Linked DNA regions of Homo sapiens: region 2 is linked to region 1. Evidence: promoter capture Hi-C in 16 types of primary human blood cells and fetal thymus (Javierre and others, 2016). All regions are on one chromosome and are shown on one strand. Each heading gives the region's core, a stretch centred on a gene start or on the middle of the fragment in contact. The rest is flanking DNA. Distances are from core to core; before and after follow the strand shown.

The links. The method cuts DNA at HindIII sites, captures the fragments that hold promoters and counts their contacts. A CHiCAGO score of 5 or more calls a contact.
Region 2: a contact is called between a fragment that was not itself captured here and the fragment with the promoter of NT5M in region 1, in 1 of 17 cell types (activated CD4 T cells). The highest score is 5.1, in activated CD4 T cells.

What each region holds. Positions count from the first base shown.
Region 1 is chr17:17,301,221-17,306,479 of GRCh38, forward strand. NT5M (5',3'-nucleotidase, mitochondrial) reads left to right here and starts at 2,153. Exons shown (of 5, transcript NM_020201.4): 1 at 2,153-2,597. The coding sequence starts at 2,331. RefSeq lists an enhancer at 1-109 and silencers at 2,083-2,252, 2,303-2,402, 2,533-2,722. The HindIII fragment of the contact is 19,177 bases long and covers 1-5,259 here.
Region 2 is chr17:17,118,516-17,124,082 of GRCh38, forward strand. The region is part of intron 3 of MPRIP (myosin phosphatase Rho interacting protein); the gene reads left to right. Among named protein-coding and RNA genes, the nearest start is that of MPRIP, 79 kb to the left of the region's middle. RefSeq lists an enhancer at 715-1,240. The HindIII fragment of the contact is 480 bases long and covers 1,258-1,737 here.

The sequences.
Region 1 (5,259 bases), core at 903-3,402:
AGCAGGAATGCAGACAGCTCCTCGGTGGAAGGGGGCGGGTCCCTGGTGAAGCCCCACCTTCAATCCTGGAAGGGCCTGAAGCCTGGGGGCCAGGTCACCAGTCCCAGTACCAGAGCGGGGAACTTGTGGTGCTTTTCCCCAGGCCTGCTCATGGCCACCTATGGCCGCCCATGGACCAATCAGCACTCACTTCTTCCCCTCTGAGGTCCATAAAAAACCCTGGACTCAGCCAGACTCAAAGAGAGGACGGGTAGATGGGGAGAAAACCAGCTGCAGAGAGGAACTACCCTTTCTGCTGAGAGCTGGACACTTGTTGGGATGAACTGCCTACCAGAGAGGAGCTACCCTCTCTGCTGAAAGCTGAACACTTGTGGGGAAACCCTGGCTATGGAGAGGAGCTGCCCACTGCAGGTCTCTTCTGAAGTATTCTGTTGCTCAATAAAGCTCCTCTTCGTCTTGCTCACTCTCCACTTGTCTGCCTACCCCATTCTTCCTGGATGCAGGACAAGAACTCGGGACCTGCCAAATGGTGGGGCTAAAAGAGCTGTAACACAGGCTGGGTGCAGTGGCTCACGCCTTTAATCCCAGCACTTTGGGAGGCCGAGGGGGGTGGGGCGGATCACCTGAGGTCAGGAGTTTGAGGCCAGCCTGGCCAACATGGTGAAACCCTGTCTCTACTAAAAATACAAAAATCGGCCGGGTGCGGTGGCTCACACCTGTAACCCCGGCACTTTGGGAGGCCGAGGCGGGCAGATCACAAGGTCAGGAGTTGGAGATCAGCCTGGCTAACATAGTGAAACCCTGTCTCTACTAAAAATGCAAAAAAGCTGGGTGTGGTGGTGGGCGCCTGTAATCCCAGCCACTTGGGAGGCTGAGGCAGGGGAATCGCTTGAACCTGGGAGGTGGAGGTTGCAGTGAGCCGAGATCCTGCCACTGCACTCCAGCCTGGGCAACAAGAGCAAGACTCCCTATCAAGAAAAAAAAAAAAAAAAGGGAGAGAATGTGGTACATATATACCATAGAATACTTCACAGTCATAAAAAAAGAATAAGATCATGTCTTTTGCAGCCATATGGATGGAGCTGGAGACAATTATCCTAAGCAAACACAGGAACAGAAAATTAAATACCTCATGCTCTCACTTAAAAGCGGGAACTAAACATTAAGTAAACATGGACGTAATGATGGGGACAACAGACACGGTGACCTACTTGAGGGTGGAGAGTGGGAGGAGGGTGAGGATGGAAAAACTACCTATCAGGAACTACGCTTATTACCTGGGTAATAATAATCTGTACACTAAACCCCCAAGACAGTCAATTTATATAACAAATCTGCACATGTATCCCTGTACTTAAAAGTTGAAAAGAGGCCGGGCGCGGTGGCTCACGCCTGTAATCCCAGCACTTTGGGAGGCTGAGGTGGGAGGATCGTTTGAGCCCAACATAGGAAGACTCCTGTCTCAAAAAAAAAAAAAAAAAAAAAAAAATTACCAGGGTGTGGTGGCAGGCCCCTGTGGTCCCAGCTACTCAGGAGGCAGAAGCAGGACGATCCCTTGGGCCCAGAAACTCAAGGCTGCAGGGAACCGAGATCATGCCACTGCTTCCACCCTGGGTAACAGAGCAAGACCCCGTCTCCAAAAAAAAAAAAAAAAAAAAGCAATACAGGGGTACTTAATATTTATTCATATATTTACCTGAGAATCATCAGTTTTACTAAGGCTGTATGATGTTAGCAGATATTGGTTCTATCAGTCTCTCCGCAGACATTTGCTGTAAATAAAGCAGAGAGGCTTTCAGAGTGCACCCTGTTTTTGTTCCTCCATCCTGTTGTCTGGATCCCCTTCTAAAACGTAAGTTCCAGGATGGCAGGAACTTTGTCTATTTGGTTCACACTCGACACAGTTAGTGCTCAAAAATGTCTAACGACACAGGCCTGCTTCTCGGTTTGCACTGCTCCTCCATGGTAGTCTGTGCAGTGGGAGAAGGCAGCCCGGGCCCAGGGTCCACGGAGAAGACGCAAATCGACAGCGCGGGAGCGCGGACCTTCTGGAGGCGCGCGGCGCTTACCGCTGTCCGTCCTCGAAGCCCCGCCCCGGGGCTCCGCCTCCGCCGGCGCGTGTTCCTTTAGGGACCGCGCGCGCCGCGGCCTCGCTCTGGGGCCGGTACTTGCGCGCCCGCACCCCGCGCTCCCCGCCCCGCTCCCCGTCCCGCGCTCCACGCGCGCCCCAGCGTTGGGGGCTTCTCCTCCGCGGCGGGAATGTCTGGCCGGCTCCGGCAGCACGGCGCGGCCCAGGTCCCCGCGCCCACGACGGGCCAGCGCGCTGGGCCATGATCCGGCTGGGCGGCTGGTGTGCGCGGCGGCTCTGCAGCGCGGCGGTTCCCGCGGGGCGGCGCGGGGCGGCGGGCGGGCTGGGCCTGGCGGGAGGCCGCGCCCTACGGGTGCTGGTGGACATGGACGGCGTGCTGGCTGACTTCGAGGGCGGATTCCTCAGGAAGTTCCGCGCGCGCTTTCCCGACCAGCCCTTCATCGCGCTGGAGGACCGGCGCGGCTTCTGGGTGTCGGAGCAGTACGGCCGCCTGCGGCCAGGGCTGAGCGTGAGCGTCCCCGCCCCGCCCCGCGCCGGGCCTCCTTCTCGCCCCGAGCCCCAGACACCGCCCCTGCGCCGGTGACCTTGGACGGTCAGCGCCCCAGCCTCGGGGTGGCCCTCTGATAGAATAGGGTCTGGGGGGGACTAGGGGCCACAGCGCACCGGGAAGATGCGGCCCCGCGCTCAGGATCTGTTGGCTGCCATCCAAGGTTTCTGAAAATGCGGGAGAGTACAAAGTGTTAATATACCTAACTCTGCATTTAAAGCTGACTTCAAAATTTGTGGCATATTTGGCCTCAAGTCGTTTGTTAAATTTTTAGAAAAATAAACGTTATAAGTTGTCCTCTTTCACCCCGACCGCAGTCACATTCCCACTTCTTTGTCCCCAGGACTTTGATGGGTGTCTTTACCCATCTTTTTTACTGTTGTCCATGAAAGCATAGCTTCCAGGGGTATTTGAGGCCCAGAGAGGTTGTGTGACTTTCTGGGGGTCACACAGTGAGTCAGTGGTCCAGGTGAGGTGGGATCCACCTCATGTCTTATCCCCTTGCAGAGCTGGCCTTGCTGAACACCTGAGCTCAACCCCTACCATCCGACTCCCGAGGTGTTCTGTCCAGGATGGATAGAGGGGAAAGATCCAAGGAGGGACGTTTACACACAGATCTTGGTTGGTAAATTTGAAGTATTTTGCAAAAGGAACAGGGGATTTTGGTATGCACAAAATTAAAGAGGCTGAGTGTTTTTTGGCATCCCTTGATTGGCCACCTAGGGTTGCTGCTGGAGGGTTTGATAAAGAGGAGAAGGAAGTTACAAGAGCCCGTTTTTTAGCCACAAGTTCACTGCATCCTCTCTTTTGTTGGGTAGATATTATTATCTCTGTTTTCCAGATGAGGAAACTTGCCCCAAGTCACATGCTGCTCAGGGGCTCAGTCAGGACTCAAACCCAAGTCTGTCTGCCTCCCAAGCACAGTTAGTGCTCCCCACTCCACAGTCCTGTTCTCTGTACTACTGTCTCTAACAAGTGACATTTCTTCTGACATCAGAAAGATGCCTCATCAGTAATGTGGTTTGTTGAGGGACAGGTGTTAAAAAAGGAAACCAAGTACCGTTTGTCTCCATCAACACCAGGCACTTCAGAAGGTGACTTTCACAGAGCCCAGTGTGCTGAGCTCTTCTACAGCGGATGCCTAATGATAAACTTTAAACTGGAGAAAATGCCCTGGTACTTTCTGCAGCCTCAGGAATAGGCTCCAGTGTGTGGCGAGTGTTCATTTATAGGCAGCGCTCGGCATGGGGAGTCTGGACACCATATATCCGCCCGGGAGTGTATTAACGTGGAAACCAAGCCCACCCCCAACTCCGAAAAGTGCAGCAGCTTTTCCAGTTCTTTGTGCAAATATGTAGGCTCTGTACGTGTGGGGTTACTGGTTTCCAAGCACAAGGCAAAGGCACGGGGCAGTAAGGAGGGTGCCTTGGGAGTAATCTGCTGGCTTCCACTACTTCCCTTCCTGAGGCACGGCTTGCTGCTGTGGACATCCCTGGGCCTACCCCAAGCTGGCCCAGTATCTGTGGTTAAAACAACCGCCCCCCCCCCCCCGCCCCCACACACGTGGCTCCTTATGTGTATGTAGGCATTTCTACTTTTCAAAATTCTGCTCTGTCTGTATTCCCTTTGGTCTTCACAGTACCCTATGTGGGATGTGAGGATCAAATGTGTTTCAGTAATAAGCACGCATTTGCCTAGTCCCTGTGGTTCCTGAGAGTGTTGCTGGTATGCTGTCAGGGCATCCTCCGGCCGTCCATGTGACAGGGTGGCTGTCTTTCTGTAGTGTGCAGAACAGCTGGTAGAGGCACTTCCTGTACTGCACACGTGGGATTTAGGCTCCTGCTCATAGGCTGAGATGTGTCTCCCCTCTGGTTGTCACTTTCCCCTTGCCTGACCCTAGAAAAGGTGCTGCATTCTGGCCCTGCAGCAGAACAGGGGAAGGAGAAAGGCAGCGGGGGTTGGGGAGTGGGGAGGAGAGGGTTGGTGTTGGGGGTTCTTCTCCCAGCTCAGCTGCTGTTTTGCTGTGTGACATCAGGTGGATCTCTTCCCCGTTCTGAGCCTCAGTTTTCTGACATGTAAAATGAGGGTCTGCATTTTTGCTTTGCAACTCTAAAAGCAGCAGAATCCTTTTTTTAAAAATGTACTTATTGGCACCTCAACATATAAAACCGATAAAAGCAGAGCTCTTCTGGTTAATGTGGGGAGGATCCTCGAGCTCCCTGAATTGTCCTTTTACCCTGTCTCCCCCTCCCCCTTGTCCCTCATGGCACCTTAAAGATCTCTGAGTCCCTCCAGTTCTCAAGTTTAAGGACTCTACTACCATGGTAAGAGCTGGTCCAGCCTCAGTTTCCACAATGCTTTTGGCCACTCGAATCCAGCCTAACAAGCACGCAGTTCCTGATGATTGGCCTCAGGTCCCAGAGAGCTCCAGCAGGTGTAGGAGTCCATGGGCCTGACACCTTTGCTGGTCTCTGCTGGATCCCGACGAAGTCAGGTCCTTTCTGGAAAGGGGTTCGAAGTCCACATACTCTCCGCACTACCCCCAGGAAGTACGTCCTTGGGTGTGTGTTTGGGGGAGTGAGAGGAATGAAGAACCACTCCCCCTATAGCCTGGCCATACTCC
Region 2 (5,567 bases), core at 248-2,747, 180 kb before region 1:
CTAGGGGCTGTTCCATGCAGCTTCAGGAGGCTACAGTGTGGAGGATGATTGTGGAACTGCCCTTTGAACCATGAGGACTGTGGAGTACACCAGGACTGGCGGTGACGACTGGGAAGGGGGAAGGGAGTTCTGCCTGGTGGGTACCTGCTAGGCCCATTGTCAGTCCCTAGGCGTGGTTGGCCTAACACTTCTCTGAGTTGTGGCACAGAGGCCAGGCAGAGGCTTTGCTTACTCTGGGCCTGCATGGGATCATGACCCCTTTTCTGCGGCTCTTTCCAGTTTCCTCAGAGGACTTGGGCTTTGGGGATATCTGTCTGTGGAGAGTGCTGCTCCCTGGGGAGGTCTGCAGCCCCAGAGGGACTTTGGGCCAAGAGTTAAGTGCCCTTTCTACACTTGATGGCCTTTGGGGTAGTCACCAGCACCTCCTCAAAAGAGAGGGGCTTGTGATTTGTTAGATCGGGCTCCTAGAAGCAGTTTGGCTGCAGCAAGAAGAGCCGGGAGACCACCTTTGACCTGAGCCAGCCACACAGCCCCCATGAGCCCTGCTCCTGTGTTGTGCCTCCCAGGATGTGGGTTCCAGGGGCGCCTAGGAACTCAGCTGGTGCTCCCCAAGGGCTGTGTTCCTTCCTGAGAAAACTCTGGAGCCAATGTCCTGAATTCCAAAGAAAGGAAGGACCTCTCCTTAGACCTGGCTCGAGCAGCCAGACCATGTCTGCAGCACAGCCCACCAGCCCAAGGGAGGAGGGAGGTGGTGTTCCTGCCTGGGCGCTGCCTAATCAGGCCATAGCTCAGTGAAGTGCCAGGCTGAAGGCAGGGGCCGTGCTGGGCAAGTCTCCACGTGGTCCAGGCTGGGTAGCCCTGCCTACAGTTTCTCTGATAAACTTAGGCATGACCTTGTGCAAACAATTGTTAAGTCCAGGGAGGAAAGATGCCAAGGAGAGAGGGGCAAGGGTGCCAGTCAGAGAGGACCACACTTGTTCTGGGTGGCCCACAGAGTGCCACGTCCCATAATCACTTGGAGCCCCAGCTTGTACATTTGAAAGTCAGAACAATGATGTGCCTGCCTCCTGAAGCTGTCATCAGTACCTGTAGCTACTCAGGGCCTGGCCACAGTGAGCACCCAGGAAGTGGTGAATACACTTCCTGCTTCTACTGCAAGGCAATTCCCTGTGTCCTCCCTAGAACGTGCCGAGCTGCCTGTCCCTGCCAGAGTGCAGATGAGCAAGGCGACCGCTCAGCCCCAAAGTTTGCAGACAAAGCTTTTCATACTCCTTAAGTGGGTCACAGTGCATATGAAAAAATAATAAATACAGTGCACATGGTAGAAATACTGACTCACCGTTTTCCATTTCATGTGCATGTGTGCACTTGTGTGTGTGCTCATCATGGTGTGAATGTGGTGTTCCATGTGGGCCTTGGTTGGATGAGTTTGTGAAACATGCTGTCTCAGGACCTCAGGTGTGGGGGGAAGTCAGGTTTCACCTTGAAATCCCCTTTCTGACCTTGAGATTTTGGGAGTAATTCTTTGCCCTAGGGGAAAGCCTTTGTTTCTTGGGTCTCTGTTTTCTGGTCTGAATGAGGGATTGGGGGATAAAGGGAAGACTCCCACCCAGGTCTCACGTGCGACTGGTTCTGTAACAGCAGCTGCCTGGAAGGAAGGTCCTCCTGATGATAACGCCAAACAGCCTCTCACCATATTTCTGCTTACTTTCCTCTTGTTTCCCTCTGGCTCTTAGAAGCTTGCCTTCCCACACTCATGGGGTCAACAAGAAACAAAGGCCTGTTTTCCCAAAAGTGCTTCTGCTTGGGCCAGGGGTGTGGTGGAGAGTCCCCGGTTGGAGAGGCTGCTATAGCAGTATTATCCTAACCCAGGAAGGTCACTCTGGCCTCTGACAAGATGCCCTGGCTGCAGTGCACAGAGCTTCCAGCCTCCCATGGGCCTGTGGACAGAGGACCGGCAGGAGGAGCAGGGTGTGCTCATCTCTTTGGAGAGAAGCCTGAGTCCTGTGTCCTCCTGCCTAAACAATCTGCAGCCTGTAGCAACTCTGCCCCTTAGCTGGGGTAGGGTGGAGCCCAGAAGAGGACCAGAGGCTCCAGATAGCTGGAGGGCTATGTGGGGGCTGAACCCATAACTTGGTGACATAGCAGAGTCGATGGCCTACAGAGGGCCGTCTCTTTTTTTGGAAAATGAATCAAACAAAACTAGGTGAAGCTCAGCCTCCTAGGAAACCTGGATTCCTGACCTCTGGAGGTATAGAATTAGGGCAGGAAGCTCATCAGAGTTGCTTTGCTGACAGCGTTAGAGCTGAGGCGTTCCTTCTGGCTGGATTTGGGTTACAGCCTAGATATTTGCCCTTACTCTCGCAGCACAAGATTCAGGCCTACCCAGACACAGATGGTTGTATCCTGCCCCCTAGGCAGAGGCAGGGGAGGGGAGAGGTGCTGGCTGAGGGGCTCCCTGGAGCCATTGGTTGAGTCTGTTCAGTCTGGAAATGCTGCTGAGTGCAGAGCAGCAGGGGGACCAGCTCTGGAACCAGAGTGCCTGGGTTTGAATCCTGACATGGCTACTTCCTAGCATTGTGACCTTAAATCAAAATTACAGTTCTGCGTTGTTTAATGACAGGCACACATCCTGAGAAATGTGTTTTCTCAGGCAGTTTGGTCCTTGTGTAAATATTCTAGAGTGCACTTACACAAAGTTAGACAGTACAGCTTATTGCACACCTAGGCTTTGTGGTAGAGCCTATTGCTGCGAAGCCATAAACCTGTACAGCATATACTGCAATATCACAAGCAGTTATAACACAGTGGCAAGTATTGATGTATCCAAACCTAGCAAAACATAGAGGGAGCTGTTGACTAACATCGTTGTGCGGTGCATGACTGCACCTAGCTTCTTAGCAGTCTGCTTCCTTGTCTGCGGGATGAGAGTGACAGTAGTGCCTGCCTCATAGTGTGTTCGGAATGTTCAGTGAGAGGACACGGGAAGAGTTTGCAGCAGTGCGTGGTATTCAAGGGCATGGGCGCAAACATGAGCACCATTGTGCCCTGCGCCTGTGCTGGTGCTGTTGTTGCTGCTTCCCCATCGGCAGCAGGGGAAGGGGGAACACTGCACTACTGAGACTTGGAGGGAGCTATTTTCTTTTTCTTTTTCTTTTTTTAAGTTCAGGGGTGCAAGTGCAGGTTTGTCACATAGGTAAAGTTGTGTCATGGAAGTTTGTTGTACAGGTTATTTCATCACCCAGATATTAAGCCTAATGCCCATTAGTTACTTTTCCTGATCTTCTCCCTCTTCCCACCCTCCCCACTCTGAAAGGCCCCAGTGTGTGTTGTTTCTCTCCATGTGTCTATATGTTCTCATCATTTAGCTCCCACTTACAAGTGAGAGCATGTGCTGTGTGGTTTTCTGTTCCTGTGTTCGTTTGCTAAAGATAGTGGCCTCCAGCTCCATCCATGTCCCTGCAAAGGGTATTATCTCATTCTTTTTTATGACTACATAATATTCCATGGTGTATATATATCACATTTTCTTTCTCTGGTCTGTATCATTGATGGGCATTCCGTGTCTTTGCTATTGTGAATAGTGCTACAGTGAACATACATATGCATGTGTCTTTATAATAGAATGACTTATATTCCTTTGGGTATATACCCAGTAATGAGATTGCTGCATCAAATGGTATTTCTATCTTTAGGTCTTTGAGGAATTGCCACACTGTCTTCCACAATGGCTGAACTAATTTACACTCCCACCAACAGTGTATAAGTGTTCCTTTCTCTCCACAATCGAAGGGAGCTGTTTTTTGTTTTCATTTTGTTGTTTTTTTGTTTATTTGTTTTGTTTTGTTTTGTTTTTGAGATGGAATCTCGCTCCATCACCCAGGCTGGAGTGCAGTGGCGCAATCTCGGCTCACTGCAAGCTCCGCCTCCCGGGTTCACGCCATTCTCCTGCCTCAGCCTCCCGAGTAGCTGGGACTATAGACGACTGCCACCACGCCCAGCTAATTTTTTGTATTTTTAGTAGAGACAGGGTTTCACCGTGTTAGCCAGGATGATCTCGATCTCCTGACCTCGTGATCCGCCCGTCTTGGCCTCCCAAAGTGCTGGGATTACAGGCATGAGCCACTGCGCCTGGCCAAAGGGAGCTATTTTATAGCAGGTCCTCAGTACGTACCTGGACCTGTCTTCCAAGAGTGCTGGTTAGAAGCAGTACATAAATACAATTTAAAAAGTTAGTCCCAAACCCTCACGCAGTGCTAGTGGGAATGTGAGATGGCACAGCCACTTTGGGAAATAGTCTGGCAGCTCCTCAGAGTTAAACATATAGTTTCCATATGACCCAGCACTTCTGCTCCTAGGTACACACCCAAGAGAAATGAGAGCACAGGAGCACTGTACAGGAATGTGCACAGCAGCACTATACACAGTAGCCAAAAAATGGAAACAGTCCAAATGTCCATCAACAGATGAATGGATAAACAAAATGCGGTATAGCCGCACAATGGAACGTTATTCAGCTGTAAAAAGTATTGAAAGACTGACACATGCTGCAATGCGGAGGAACCTTGAAAATATGCTAAATCCTTGAAAATATGCTAAATGGAAGCCAGATTTTTCCATTTATGCAAGGTATCCAGAAGAGATGCATCCACAGAGGCAGGAAGCAGGTTAGCAGTTGTTGAGGTGGGGACAGGTGTCAAAGGGAAGTGACTGCGAATGGCTTTTCAGGGGGAGATGGAAATGTTCTGCACTTGATTGCAGAACAGCTCTGTGAACATGATGCTAAAAGCCATTGAACTGTACACTTTAGGTAAATTGTATGTAAATTATATCTCAATAAAGCTGTTGTTAAAAAGAAAAGTTAGGCCAGGGGCGGTGGCTTCGCGCCTGTAATGCCAGCACTGTGGGAGGCTGAAGCAGGCGGATCAGTTGATGTCAGGAGTTCGAGACCAGCCTGGCCAACATGGTGAAACCCCGTCTCTACTAAAAATACAAAAATTACTATAAAATACAAAAATATAATACTAAAAATACAAAAATTAGCTGGGTGTGGTAGCATGCATCTGTAGTCCCAGCTAGTTGGGAGGCTGAGACAGGAGAATCCCTTGAACCCAGGGGATGGAGGTTGCAGTGAGCTGAGATCACACCACTGCACTCCAGCCTGGGCAACAGAGCGAGACTTCGTCTCAAAAAAAAAAAAAAAAAAAAAGAAAGAAAAAACGAAAAGTTAATACCAGGATTAAATAAAAATGAGATCATCTGATTAAGAGCAGGAAGTTTTTTTTCCCTCCTCCATGGAAATAGATTGGGCTCTGGAGTTAAAATATTCCCTTCTTTGATAACGTATTTACCCCCATTTGCTCTCCTTTCTCTGTGTGTGATAGGGTTAGGTGATGCCCGCCTCACAGTAAGTAATATTGAAGAGGGCATAAAAGGGAGTGTAACTGTGAAATCTTGACACACAGGTAGTTAATACATGCTAATTTCCTTCAGTCCTGGCTCAGCTTGGTATGTTTTTGCCTTTTATTAATGCTTCTGAAATCCTTTTTGGAAGGAGATAGAACCCT